Linked DNA regions of Homo sapiens: region 2 is linked to region 1. The links are contacts of gene promoters, found by promoter capture Hi-C in blood cells and fetal thymus (Javierre and others, 2016). All regions are on one chromosome and are shown on one strand. Each heading gives the region's core, a stretch centred on a gene start or on the middle of the fragment in contact. The rest is flanking DNA. Distances are from core to core; before and after follow the strand shown. Region 1 holds the start of SMG6 (SMG6 nonsense mediated mRNA decay factor). Region 2 overlaps SMG6 (SMG6 nonsense mediated mRNA decay factor).

Evidence for each region. Contacts are between HindIII fragments. The CHiCAGO score rates a contact against its expected background, and 5 or more counts as called.
Region 2: a fragment that was not itself captured here is called in contact with the fragment with the promoter of SMG6 in region 1 in 1 of 17 cell types (activated CD4 T cells); the score reaches 5.2 in activated CD4 T cells.

The regions. Positions count from the first base shown.
Region 1 is chr17:2,300,063-2,306,651 of GRCh38, forward strand. SMG6 (SMG6 nonsense mediated mRNA decay factor) reads right to left here and starts at 3,723. Exons shown (of 19, transcript NM_017575.5): 1 at 3,571-3,723; 2 at 1-602. The coding sequence starts at 3,658. SRR (serine racemase) reads left to right here and starts at 3,888. Exons shown (of 8, transcript NM_021947.3): 1 at 3,888-3,955. RefSeq lists enhancers at 1,981-2,795, 3,125-3,851 and silencers at 3,353-3,562, 3,753-3,972. The HindIII fragment of the contact is 10,069 bases long and covers 1-6,589 here.
Region 2 is chr17:2,178,006-2,184,594 of GRCh38, forward strand. The region is part of intron 12 of SMG6 (SMG6 nonsense mediated mRNA decay factor); the gene reads right to left. Among named protein-coding and RNA genes, the nearest start is that of SMG6-AS1, 92 kb to the left of the region's middle. RefSeq lists an enhancer at 699-2,990. The HindIII fragment of the contact is 4,942 bases long and covers 508-5,449 here.

The sequences.
Region 1 (6,589 bases), core at 2,473-4,972:
GTGGGTTTCCCTCACCCCCTCCCCTTTTCCCATCCTCTTTCCTTTTTCTCCTTTTGCAGCCCCTACTCTCCCACCACCTGGGCTCTTTTCTATCTCAGCCCTGTCTGGTTTATTCGCAACTTCCTCCTTCGCAACATTTCCCCTACACTCATCTTCCTCTACTCTCAGTTGTTCTACCTGGTTGAGGACTTCTTCCTCCTCCACCCGACTGGCGGATTCTTTGCTAACAGTCTGCAAACGTCGTCCAGGCTGATAGATCTGCAGGTCGGGTTTCTTTGTTCTTTTGATAATTTTTAGACTACGATCCTCTTGTCCAGCAGTCCTAGGAAAGGATTCTTGTCCCCGATTATTTTCTGGGTCTATAGGACCATTCTGCTCTTGGTTGTTCAGTTCCTTGCAGACATCTTTAACGGGCTGTGTACCATTTTCAACAGCAGAGCAATCTCGGTCATTAACAATTTCATCTTTGAATTCCTCACTCCCAGGGGGTTCCTTGATTTTGGGCTTGTTCCTTAGCCGAGAAAGGCCAGGCTTATAGATTTCCAGATCTGGACGCCTGTTATCTTTGCGCGGCCTGGCCTCCTTTAATTCCTTCATGTTTTCTGTTATGTCGGGGAAAGAGTTTGGGAGGGAAAGGTAGAAGATAAGAATAAAGAAGGAAGATAGGGGAAAGACTGTCATTCTGGTTAAGTAACAAAAAAAGTCGAGCAAGAATTACATATCCAAATGCTAATACTGGTAGGCAAAGAAGGACATTTCTGTAGAAGCAGAAATTCTGGGTTTACAACACTTGTTCAACAATTCACAAGGCTAAGGACCTAACTGTGTTGGGGCTACCTACACTTGGGTAAGTGAAATGGGGGAAACCCATCTCCTTATGTGTCATCCAAGTCATATTCAGAAATCCAAGATCCCAAACTACCTCATTATTGTCAGAACAAAAGACCTCTCTAACCTTTTCAGCACTACACTGTTCTCTATCTATAGAGCCTGTGAATCCACCTCAGCCTTTTCTTCCGCCTCTAACTTTTTCCTGGGTGGCTAAGTTCTTTTAACATAACAGCAGGAGGAAGAAGTAAAAAAGGAGAAAAAGGAGGGAGGGTATTATAACAATTATCAGTCCTGGACATCTCTGGAGAAAAAAAATGCAACTTTAGTCTTTAAACTTGACCAGGATGATTCTCTTCTTCAAGATACCAATTACCAAATAACATACCTGCTGGTGAATTAAACAGCAAGCAGTTCTTTTCCCATTCTTCAACTTCACCCATCCTCACCAACTCACTAACAGTAGCTCACAGAGTTACCAAAATACTGCTCAGACTATCATACTAGAATACTGACACTAACTGCTACTGTGATGATGGAATTATTAGAAAAAAGTTCCATAAGGGAACTTTCCCTGGATGCTGATGGAAAGATTGTGACATACTCTCAAAATGCCAACAACTGGGAACTCAAGAATTAAGAATAATACAGGACTTTAGAAACCACTCTCGGCCGGGCGCGGTGGGTCACGCCTGTAATCCCAGCACTTTGGGAGGCCGTGGTGGGTGGATCACGAGGTCAGGAGATCGAGACCATCCTGGCTAACACGGTGAAACCCCGTCTCAACAAAAAATACAAAAAATTAGCCGGGCGTGGTGGTGGGCGCCTGTAGTCCCAGCTACTCGGGAAGCTGAGGCAGGAGAATAGCGTGAACCCAGGAGGCGGAGCTTGCAGTACGCGGAGATCGCGCCAGTGCACTCCAGCCCAGCGGACAGATACTTACTTAAGTATCTGGTTTTTTAAAAAAGTATCTGTTACCGTTATCAAAAGTAACCACTAAACATTACAATGGAAAAGTGACAGAATTCGGGAGAATATTATCAAGTACACAAATGGAATGCTATATAAAATCCTAGCATAGGCCAGGTGCAGTAGCTCACGCCTATAATCCCAGCACTTTGGGAGGCTGAGGCGGGAGGACTGCTTGAGGCCAGGAGTTCGAGATCAGCCTGGGCAACATGGCAACACCCTGTCTCTATAACGTATACAAAAAATAGCCAGGTGTGGTGGTGCAGGTCTGTAATTCCAGCTACTCGGAAGGCTGAGGTGGGAGGATCACTTGAGCACAGGAGGGGGAGGCTACAGTGAGCTGAGATCCCTCCACTGCACTCCAGCCTGGAAGACAGAGTGAGACCCTGCCTCAAAAAAATTGGCCGGGCACGGTGGCTCACGCCTGTAATCCCAGCACTTTGGGAGGCCAAGGCGGGCGGATCACGAGGACAGGAGTCCAGACCATCCTGGCCAACACGGAGAAACCCCGTCACTACAAAAATACAAAAAATTAGCCAGGCGTGGTGGCACACGCCTACAGTCCAAGCTACTGGGGAGGCTGAGGTAGGAGAATGGCGTGAACCCGGGAGGCGGAGGTTGCAGTGAGCAGAGATCGCGCCACTGCACTCCAGCCTGGGCGACAGAGCTAGACTCCGTCTCAAAAAATAATAATAACAACAATAAAAAAGTTTTTAATCCTAGTATTGCTCTCTAAATATAAATGGAAACAAGCCCAAAACAGGAATCATATGCTCCAGCAAGTACATTTACTGTTTGTAGGTGTAAGGAAAAGGGGAAGAAAAGAGACTGAGGTTTTGGATAGTGCTTCACTATTTTCATAAGTTTAAAAGGTAGGTTCATGAAGTATCCACAAAGATAAAGCAGTTTAACCCAAGAATAGCTCACCCTCGGCAGTCTGTAACTTGGTGGGGGGCGGGGGGATGGGGAAAGCTATTCCTACTACTTTCTAGAGCAGCGGGAGAAAATAGCCTTAATAATCCAATTATGTTAATCAACAAAAACCAATTTCACAGACTGGCCGCAAACCTAGAGAAGGCACCTATCACAGCTACCATTCTACACAACTCTATTGCCTAACGCAGGAGAGGTGAGACACTTAGAATCTTTCTTACTTTCCTGACGTGGCTGGAGACTTGAAATTAACTTGCAAATTGAGCATTCTCTCTAATAAAAACTGCTCCCACACATGCCAGGGCCAAACCCGAGTAGTCTGAGGTCCCGGATCCCTCCAGTGGCGCAGCTTTCGGAAGCCTGTCTTGGGGGGGAAAAGTTCAGCAACGAAGTCGCAGGCTCTTAAACCTTTCTCCCCAATTCCTTCTCTCCGACGTTAAAGCGGTGGCCGGGGCAGGCCCGCGGAGGGCGGCCTGGAGAGCGATACGCCCGGGGCCTCCACCAGACCCCACTCCTTTCCGCGTCTCCCGATGCCTGGGAATCCGGGGCGGGTCTGAGAGGGCTGGGGCAAAAGGAACAGTCACCTTCGCGGCGAGAAAGAGGGTGGAGGCAGGAATTCGGGCCAGGCTCTCCCGGAGCTGGCCAGGACTGGCCGAGCCCGACCCCGCACTAACCCGCGAGAGAGGTAGGGCAGCGAGGGTCCGCCGCGGCCCCAGCGCCTACTGCTGGGGGAAGGGGCGGGGGCTCCGGAGCCGAGGGCCGAGCGGGGAGGAGGCAGAGGAGGAGGAGAGGGAGGCGGGGCGGGCAGGCCCGGCCCAGGAGCTGGGCGGCGCGACTCACCTCTGCTCCCGGCCTGCGGGGCCAGAGTAGCCAGGATCCCGCGCAGCTCCGACGCGGAGATCCGCACACGCTCCAGCCCTTCCGCCATCTTCGCGGCTGCTGCTACAGCCGTAGCGGCTCCGCCACCGCCGCGCGCAGCCAGGAAACCACCACAGACGGGCGGCGCGCGCGCTCGCCCACCTCCCGGCCTTTCCCCGCCCCCTGCCGCCCTCCCTTTCCGAACGACGGTGGCCGCGCTGGGAGGAAAAGCGCCCGCCGCCGGTTCCAGAGGGGCGGGACCGGAGCGAGAGCCTGGGTGGGGCGGGCGGGCGCTGCGCGTGCGCAGAGGTGCGGCCGGGGAGGCGCGCGGAGGCTGGAGCTGGAGGCGCGGCGCCGGTGAGCTGAGGTGAGGCGAGGCCGGGCCGTGCCAGGCCAGGCGGGCGTTTGCGGCGGTGGCTGCCGTTGCTGTTGTCGTGGACACCAAGGACACTGCTAGTCTGGGACTCGGGTTGACAGAGACACCCCTCAGCCTGGGCTCCTCTGGACACCTTAGGCCAGGCTCTCCCGCCACAGGCCCGGCCTAGCGCCGCGGGCCATTACTTGGGACCTTGAAGATCTGCTAAGAGTAGTTGTTACTATTCCCTTTTTTTTTTAGTTGGAGTCTCGCTCTGTTGGAGACTCCCGGGCTGGAGTGCAGTGGCGCGGTCTCGGCTCACTGCAACCTCTGCCTCCTGGATTCAAGCGATTCTCCTGCCTCAGCCTCCCTAGTAGCTGGGATTACAGGTGCACGCCACCAAGCCCGGCTAATTTTTGTATTTTTTGTAGAGACGGGGTTTCACTAGGCTGGTCTCGAACTCCTGACCTCAGGTGATCCACCCGCGTCGGCCTCCCAAAGTGCTGGGATTACAGGCGTGAGCCACCGCGCCCGGCCGCCCCCTGACTTTTAAAAACTAGATACGATATAGTTGGAATCGTGTGGAAGGAAGTACATCAGGAGGCATATAAGTCCATTTGGGACCTGTAATCCCGGCGACTCGGAACGCTGAGACGGGCGGATCGCTTGAACCCGGGAGGCGGAGACTGCAGTGAGCCGAGATCGCGCCACTGCACTCCAGCCCGGGAGTCTCCAACAGAGCGAGACTCCGCCTCAAAAAAAAAAAAAAGTCAATTTGGGAATTTCTGTGTCACTATGGATTCTTGAAAAAAATTACTGCTGTGGATCTCAGGTTGACTTTTTAATTTCCCATCTTTAAAATTGAACTATACCAGAAGGCTGGTACTTGAATCTTTTTTTGGAGAACTGTACAGAGGTGAAGCTCCCTTCCCCAAGGCCTCCTGCCTCCACCTGTTGCCCCTCCACAGCCCCATAGGCTTTTACCCCACACCCATCACAGAATAGTTACCAATTATTCCTTAGTCTGAGCCGAAGGGATTGCCACAACCTCTGACAGAACTCCTTCAGTTCCTTTTACGTGACACTTTGTCACCGGAAGGTTAAGCATAAGAAGAAAGTCAGTAGATGATGGGTGAAAAGATCCAACAGTTCAGAAGAGGAACCATTTGAGTGGTCAGAGCAGAAGACAGCCTTTGCCACCAGATTTGAGAGAAATAGGAAGAAGCGTTAAAAAATAATCTGTTTCATATTGAAATTTGAGAGGCCATTGCATGATTTCTTTTTTCAGCTGGAAAAATAATGGAAAACAAGAAAACTTTCTTAGGACAAATGGCACCACCCATTTAATGCAACAGTGTCAGTGAACTGCAGATTAGATATGCCAAAAGTTAAACCAGTTCAAGAAAATTTACCAGAACTCAGAAGGAAAAGGTAATAGATAAAAACTGAGAGACAAAGATAGGAGACATGGAGAAGGGGTACAAAAAATTAATAATTAAATACGAGTTCCAGAAGGGGATAATACAGCTGACTGCAGAAGAGCAATAATCAAATAGTAGAAGAAAATTTACTACGTTGGTGGAAATTTTTGAATTATCAGATTTAAAGAATTCATGAAATACCAGGTAAAAAGAAATGACAAGAAAGACAACCATATTTAAGTCAGTATCACAATGAAAGCTGCTGAGATTTTTTGTTTTTCGTTTTTTTTGAGACGGAGTTTCACTCTTGTTGCCCAGGCTGGAGTGCAGTGGCACAATCTTGGCTCACTGCAACCTGCCTCCTGGTTTCAAGCAATTCTCTTGCCTCAGCCTCCTGAGTAGCTGGTATTACAGGCGCCCACCACCATGCCCAGCTAATTTTTTGTATTTTTAGTAGAGATGGGGTTTCACCATGTTGACCAGTCTGGTCTCGAACTCCTGACCTCAGGTGATCCACCCGCCTCAACCTCCTAAAGTGCTGGGATTACAGGCGTGAGCCACCGCGCCCAGCCTTGAATTCAGTTTCTAAAAGTAAAAATTGTACAAGTTGGCCGGGCGCGGTGGCTCACGCCTGTAATCCCAGCACTTTGGGAGGCCGAGGTGGGCAGATTGCCTGAGCTCAGGAGTTCCCAACCAGCTTGGGCAAGATGAAACCCCATCTCTACTAAAATACAAAAAAATTAGCTGGGTGTGGTGGCGGGCACCTGTAGTCCCAGCTACTTGGGACGCTCAGGCAGGAGAACTGCTTGAACCTGGGAGGCAGAGGTTGCAGCGAGCCGAGATTGCTCCACTGCACTCCAGCCTGGGCGACAGAGTGAGACTCCGTCAAAAAAAAAAATTGTACAGGTCATATTTACTTAGCACAAAGTAATAAAACTAGAAGTGAATAGCCACAAATGAAGCAAAACATTCTAACCATTTGGAATTTTTTTAAAAACAACAATTTTAGGCCAGGCCCCGTGGCTCATGCCTGTAATCCCAGCACTTTGGGAGGCCAAGGTGGGCAGATCACTTGAGGTCAGGAGTTCGAGACCAGCCTGGCCAACATGGCGAAACCCCGTCTCTACTAAAAATACAAAAACTAGCCGGGCGTGGTGGTGGGTGCCTGTAATCCCAGCTACTTGGGAGACTGAGGCAGGAGAATCACTTGAACCAAGGAGGTAGA
Region 2 (6,589 bases), core at 1,729-4,228, 120 kb before region 1:
AACTGCAGGAATTCAGCAGCTAATAGCAGAAATGGACTTGAATCCAATAAGTGTGGCAGAGTTAAAAGAATAATACCCGGGCTTGAAATGGCTTAGCATGCCTCTTGGAAAGCCAAGATGTCATGCCAACTCTGTTTGCATTGGGCGAAGGATTTGATTCTGGTACCTCAGTGCTAGGTAGCTCAAGAGGCCCTGGGCTGGGCTGGAGATGGGGAGAATTCTATGCGGCTCCTGGAGATTTCTAGCAACAATGTGTCATCCAGATGCCACATGATACAAAGAAGAGACAAAGGTATCAAAGGCCACCATTCCAGGAGTTAAGATATGAGCAGCAAGACACCATCCTCTAAGAATAAGAGATGTTTGCTGGGTGACCCCTAAAGAGACCAGACTTAGATGAAGGTAATCCCTTCTATCTTTCTCATTTATACCAACAAGTCGACTTGGGACTTTGGGAGAGTACTCACCCTAAATCAATTTTGCCCAAAAGGGCAAATCAAATTCTGAAGCTTAGTCATCCTGCCCTACTGCAAGAATATAAACCTCTCCATGTTCTAAGCAGGGCAGCTGGAACCCTATGGCCAGCAATAGGTCACAGTAACCTCGTTCCAGGATTTCTCAAGTATCAGAGCACCTCAACCATCCACTGCCCCCAATATGTTCGGGGTCGGCGCCTTATTTGATTTCAGTTCTCCAAAGCCACCCTCATATGTATAGCCTCTGTCATATCACTATGGTGTGCTAAACCCATCAGCACTGTATGTTTGGGAAAGAGCAGCCCCTAGGGGATCCTGACATCTCCACGGCATGAGTGGAGCCCTCGGCGGCCTCCCTGGTGCGGATTCTCACGGTTCCTGCCTCTCCAAACTTTTAGCTGTAACCACTCCAACACGTCTTCTTAGCTTAGCACACACTGGACCCAAATAACCTCAGCTCAGAGCTGGAAAGTACTCTCCCTGGGGTCAGCTGCTGTACCCTGCTGGGGTCAGACTGGAGCCTTAGGCCAACACCCCTTCCTCTCACAAGGAGTCCTACGGGAGGCGTGGGGAGGGGACAGGGGCTCCTGCCGTGGGAGAGATCACGTGTGCCCCACACTCAGCACTTGGAGGAAGAGGAACCCCCTGGTGCCAGGCTGCAGTGCTAACGCCCCAACCCGGAGCCAGGGAGACTGGGTGGGGAGCCAGGGTAGCAAAGGGGCTTCCCACAGCCACCACCACTTCCTTCAGGGAAGTGCTGATGGACTATTACTCAGTGACCTCCTAAAATGCCCTTTTGGGAAGGCATATTAAGTGTCCTTGAAGGGGTGCCGATTAGCCTTGGGATTAGTTCTTATTTCAGAGCTGCCCTATGAAGGTGAGTGAACTAGTTGTTTTTTAACTTGAGAATTTCTATCTCATCTACAGAGTCAACACATGGAAGCTCCCTAAGGAAGTCAGCTTACTGCATACGCCCTACGTATCCCTCTTTCTCCCTATGTGACAAGACCTCAGAGGGCTCCCTACGACCCTTCTCCAGTGTGCTCTGTAGACTATGGAAGACGATCCATGGAAAAGCAGCAAGTACAAGAATTTCTAGAGTTTTTTTTTTTTTAAACAGTACTCCAATCCAACAGTGTGATAAATGCATCCGAGCTACAATTAGGAAGATATATAGCATCAGAATGCGAAGGTCTGGGCAGCCTGGTGAAACGCGGGCTCTCCAGAGCCCCAGCTATGTTTCCCATTATGTAACCCTGGTCATGGGCAGACAGCCAGACTCCAAATGAAAAAGAGACTCTGGCTTGGCACTGGTTCTATTTTCCTATCCTCATTCGGGGTCAGCGCAGTGTCATACAGCTGCAGAGAAAGCTCTGGGGATTAAACCTGGGAAAGCCTCCAAGACCAGGACCTGGGTTCAAGTACCAGCTGAAAGCAATAAACCAACTGCCACAGCTGGGCTAGGTTTGGATGTTCTCAAAGTCCCCTGACTCTTTCACTTACTGAGAACTAGAAATCAGGATAAGTGAAGATTTGGCCTCAGCAGAGACTGAAATGAGGTAGGCTGTCCCACTGCCCTAGCCTTGCCAAAGGTCCTGGGATGCAAGGGGTCACTATGCTCAGGTCCATGAAGCCTGTCGCTCTACTCCTCTCCAGCACGACTTTCCTTGTGCTCACTTGCCGAAGTAGGGGTGCAGCTGCCTCTCCCTTCTCACCAGAGGCTTGGTGTGGATGGGAACACAAACTATGCTAGCAGATGGGGCAAGTAGGTGGGCCCTCCAAACCAAGCAGTCTGTCCTAAACACACCCAGCACTCTACATTGACTTTCACAGTGGCCCCAGGCCACTTTCCACATCCTGCTATAATCCTCTATACCAATAATCTCCTGGGATTATGAAGCCATTCTGTTACAATCCCTAACGGGTACAACTGGGGAGTCAACTTGCTTCCATCCATGCTGGCTCTAACACACAGATCTAATAAGTGCCACAGCGAGGGAAGGCACACATGCCCACATGCCCAGCAATCCTGCCCTCATCACTCTGCAGTGCCAACGATACTCTCATCATCATCCTAGGTGTTCCACATGTGCCTGCTGTTGTGGTTTTGACTGGAAGGAAGAGGAGCATGGGCAAAGAGGAGAGAACCAAGGAAACTCAAGATGAACCCTGGAATTCCCCTCAGAGAGGGGAAGATGCTGTGCAATGATTCTCTAACTGCATAAGGAAAGAGGGTAACAAATTAAAGACAGGGAGGGAATGAAGGAAGAGAGATGAAAGAAGGGTCCCACATGTCAGAGGGACCATTTGGAAGTGGGGTTTCTGGAGGAAAAGCAAAGGAGACTTCCTCTTTGTAGGAAAAACAGGCTCTCTGGTCACCTTATCTTAGGATCAGAGAAATGTATCTTTGCAAAGAAGAAACTCAGGCAAAGACCAATGAAAGCATGCCAAGAAGGGGCACTAAACAGCAGCCATTTCATTCCTGCTCCCTTGGGAGCATTTCCAAACCCTTCAAAACGATGAGCAGCAACAAGGACTTTACAAGCGTCAGGGGGGTTACAGTTTTGGCATCTACAGAACCATTGGGGTGTGTTATTCTCTATGACCTTAAAAGAAAAGCCTCTTCAATCTGTAAGGTCAGTGGGCATGAGATTAAGTTTGAAACCCACAAAAGCACCATACCTTTGCCAATCTCTCAACCAGAGTATTTACTCAGTGAGTATTAGGAAGCTACATGAGAATATGGGAAACAAAAGAAGGAAGGTGCAATTCTGATTCCACTTTTCCAGGCCTCTGATCTGAAGACTCTGAGGTGGGACTACCCTCAGTGGTAGTCAGGCCAGGTTTGCTCTGTTGAACGCGGGCACCAGTCCTTAAATAGCCATGCCTTGGGGTCAGGCCCCAGGATAGCAAAGCCTCTCTTTCATGCTTAAACTCGCATTCCAGAGATAACCAGCTGCTGATCCTAACTGCAGAGAGAGAAAGAAAGAGAGCACAGAAGGAGATGTTTTTCTCTATTACACTGTTTTATCTCTCTAGCCCGGACTGGCTTCACGAGAGAGTAAGTGGTATCCACAGCTACGGTAACGTATTTGCTGGGTAATTAAATTCAATATACTATTTGGTCAGATTTGCTCTCCTCGTGAAGAAGTCTGAGAAGACTAAGCAAATATGACTCAAATGTCCCAACCCCCTCTGCCTCTCTGTAGCCCAGAATGTGAAGCCCAGCCGGGGATGGCTGTAGCTTGGACCACGTGCCTGCCTGTAGATTGAGCCCTTGCCCAAAGATGGGCAGCAGCTCAGAGCCGGCAACGGGCCATTTGCTGCAGCATCCAAAGAGAAAACAGACTCAGCATCTCAAGCAAATGAGACCCAGCACTTCCTGTGTGAGCTTTCCATTTCCTCAGCCGAACAAAAGCCAAAAGGGAGTGAGAGAGGGAGGAGGGATGAAGGGAGACATGCTGCGTGAGAGAGCTAACAGACCTGTGGCCCGGGATATGGGTAAACAGGGGCTGTGTGAATCCTATCTAAGAGACCTGTGGTTGTGAGGTGAGGTGACCCGGGGAAGGCCCAGGCTCCAAGGACAGATGGTCTGCCTCCCCACCCTGAGAGTAAGGAAGGGACACTCAGTGACCCTTGTGCATGCTCAGAAGCAGTGGCTTAGATACTTGGAGAACTGAGTCCTTTCTTGGCATTTTCGTTCCAAAACTGCAAACTGCCTAGTCCTCATTACAGATTAATAGCCTGAAAAGTTTGAGGCTGTAGATGTTAACTCTTTGGGGATCACTGCTGAGAAACAGCTGTCCCCTGGCCAGCAGATCCGTCAGTTCCTTTGTGTGGCCCCAGCTGCACAGCTTGGAGCTCCAAGGCTTCAGCCTGGAGTGCATTTTGGAAACCTAGGAGGGCCCACAGATAGGATGCAGAGAACTGTCCGATGCTGTGAGTGCCGCCCACACCGTTACAGAGCTAGAGGTGGGGAGGGCATGGGGAGACTGAGATTAATAACAGTCCAGGGGGTACATCTTGAGGCAAGTACAGGGAAAAAATTTAGAAAGAAAAGGGGAAGAATCAGACTACACAGTCCACACATAAACTGCTGCCCAGAAATCTCTGCTTTAGCCTTCCCTCTGGAGGTTACCCATGAGTCTAGGAGACTCACATGGCTGGTCCCCAAGTCAAACAAGCTCCCCTCCCTACTCCCCAAAAGTGCCCTCCAAAGTAGCCAGGGTCTCCATAATCTATCCCCCAGCATTACTTCTCTCCAGAGAAGAACACTGGAGATGCTTGTTCTGAAACACACATAAATGCATAACACAGAGCATGAAGGAGCTTTGGGTACACAGCACCAGCCGAAGACCACACTGAGAGAATGTGGGGTAGGGGAAGAAAAGGAAGAGGGAAACGAGAAATGGCCAGGGGGGTGGGGTGGGCAGGGGTGAAACAGAGAAAGACAGAGACACTAAGGAAGAGTAGAGATAAGAAAGAGAGGCCCAGCACTGTGGGAGGCCGAGGCAGGCAGACCGCTTTAGCCCAGGAGATCAAGGCCAACTTGGGCAACATGACAATGCCCCATCTCTATTTAAAAAATACAAAAAGTTAGCCGGGTTGGTGGTGCATGCCTGTAGTCCCAGCTACTTGGGAGACTGAGGTGGGAGAATCACCTGAGCCCAGGAGGTCGAGGCTGCAGCGAGCTGTGATCGTGCCACTGCCGTCCACCCTGGGTAACAGAGCGAGACCCTGGGAAAGGAAGGTAGGAAGGCAGGAAGGGAGGGAAGAAGGAAAAAGAAAGAAAAAAGAAAGAAGGGAGGGAGGGAGGGAAAAATTAAAGTGAGCAGGAGGGAGAGATGAATAGTGAACAGGGCTGAACAGAGATGGAGCCTACACGCACAGTTGTACAAACATGAACACACACAGTGACACTAACACAAAGAAGAATGTGACACATGGAACATGGACAGAGATTGAAGTCAGCAAGCTTTTTCTGTAATGAGCTAAACTGCAAATATTCCAGGCCGTGTGAACCATACAGCCTGTGGCAACTACTCAACTCTGCTCTGTAATGTGAAATCAGCCATAGACACAGTGTAAACAAGTAAGCATGGTTATATTCCAATCAACTTTATGGACACTAAAATCTGACTTTTATACAATTTTCATGAGTCATGAAATAGTACTCGTTTGATTTTTTGTTTAACCATTTAAAAATGTAAACCATTATTAGCTTGTGGGCCATGGTATGCTGATCCCTGATACAGGTGCGTGCGACACACACACACACACACACACACACACACACACACACACACACACAGCAGAGGCAGACGAAAGCAGAGGCAAAGAGAAAGACAGAGGCAGGCAGGCAGAGACAGGCCAGGACAGACAGACAGACAGGTAGGTAAAAGGCAAGGCAGGCAGATACAGGAAGACCCACATACACAGAAACCCCCTCTAACAGAGAGATCCAGACTGGCATACAGAGACATAGTTACACACAAACATGGACACAACACAGACATTCAGGAACACATACTCACAGACCCAGACACAGACACAGACTGACATGGACCCAGAATCAGCACAGACACAGACAGATACACTGGTCTGATGTGGTGGCTCACGCCTGTAATCCCTGCACTTCTGGAGGCTGAGGCGGGTGGACCACTGGAGGGCAGGAGTTTTGAGACCAGCCTGACCAGCATGGTGAAACCCCATCTCTACTAAACATAAAAAAATTAGCCAGGCCTGGTGGCTCATACCTGTAATCCCAGCCACTTGGGAGGCTGAGGTGGGAGAATCACTTGAACCCAGGAGGCAGAGGCTACAGTGAACTGAGATCATGCCACTGCACTTGAACCTGGGCAACAGAGCAAGACTCTGGGGGGAAAAAAAAAAAGGGCCAGATGGGGTGGCTCACACCTGTAATCCCAGCACTTTGGGAGGCTGAGGTGGGTAGATCACCTGAGGTCAGGAGTTTGAGACCAGCCTGGCCAACATAGTGAAACCTCATCTCTACTAAAAATAAAAAATTAGCTGGGTGTGGTAGCACATGCCTGTAGTCCCAGCTACTTGGGAGGCTGAGGCAGGAGAACTGCTTGAACATGGGAGGCTGAGGA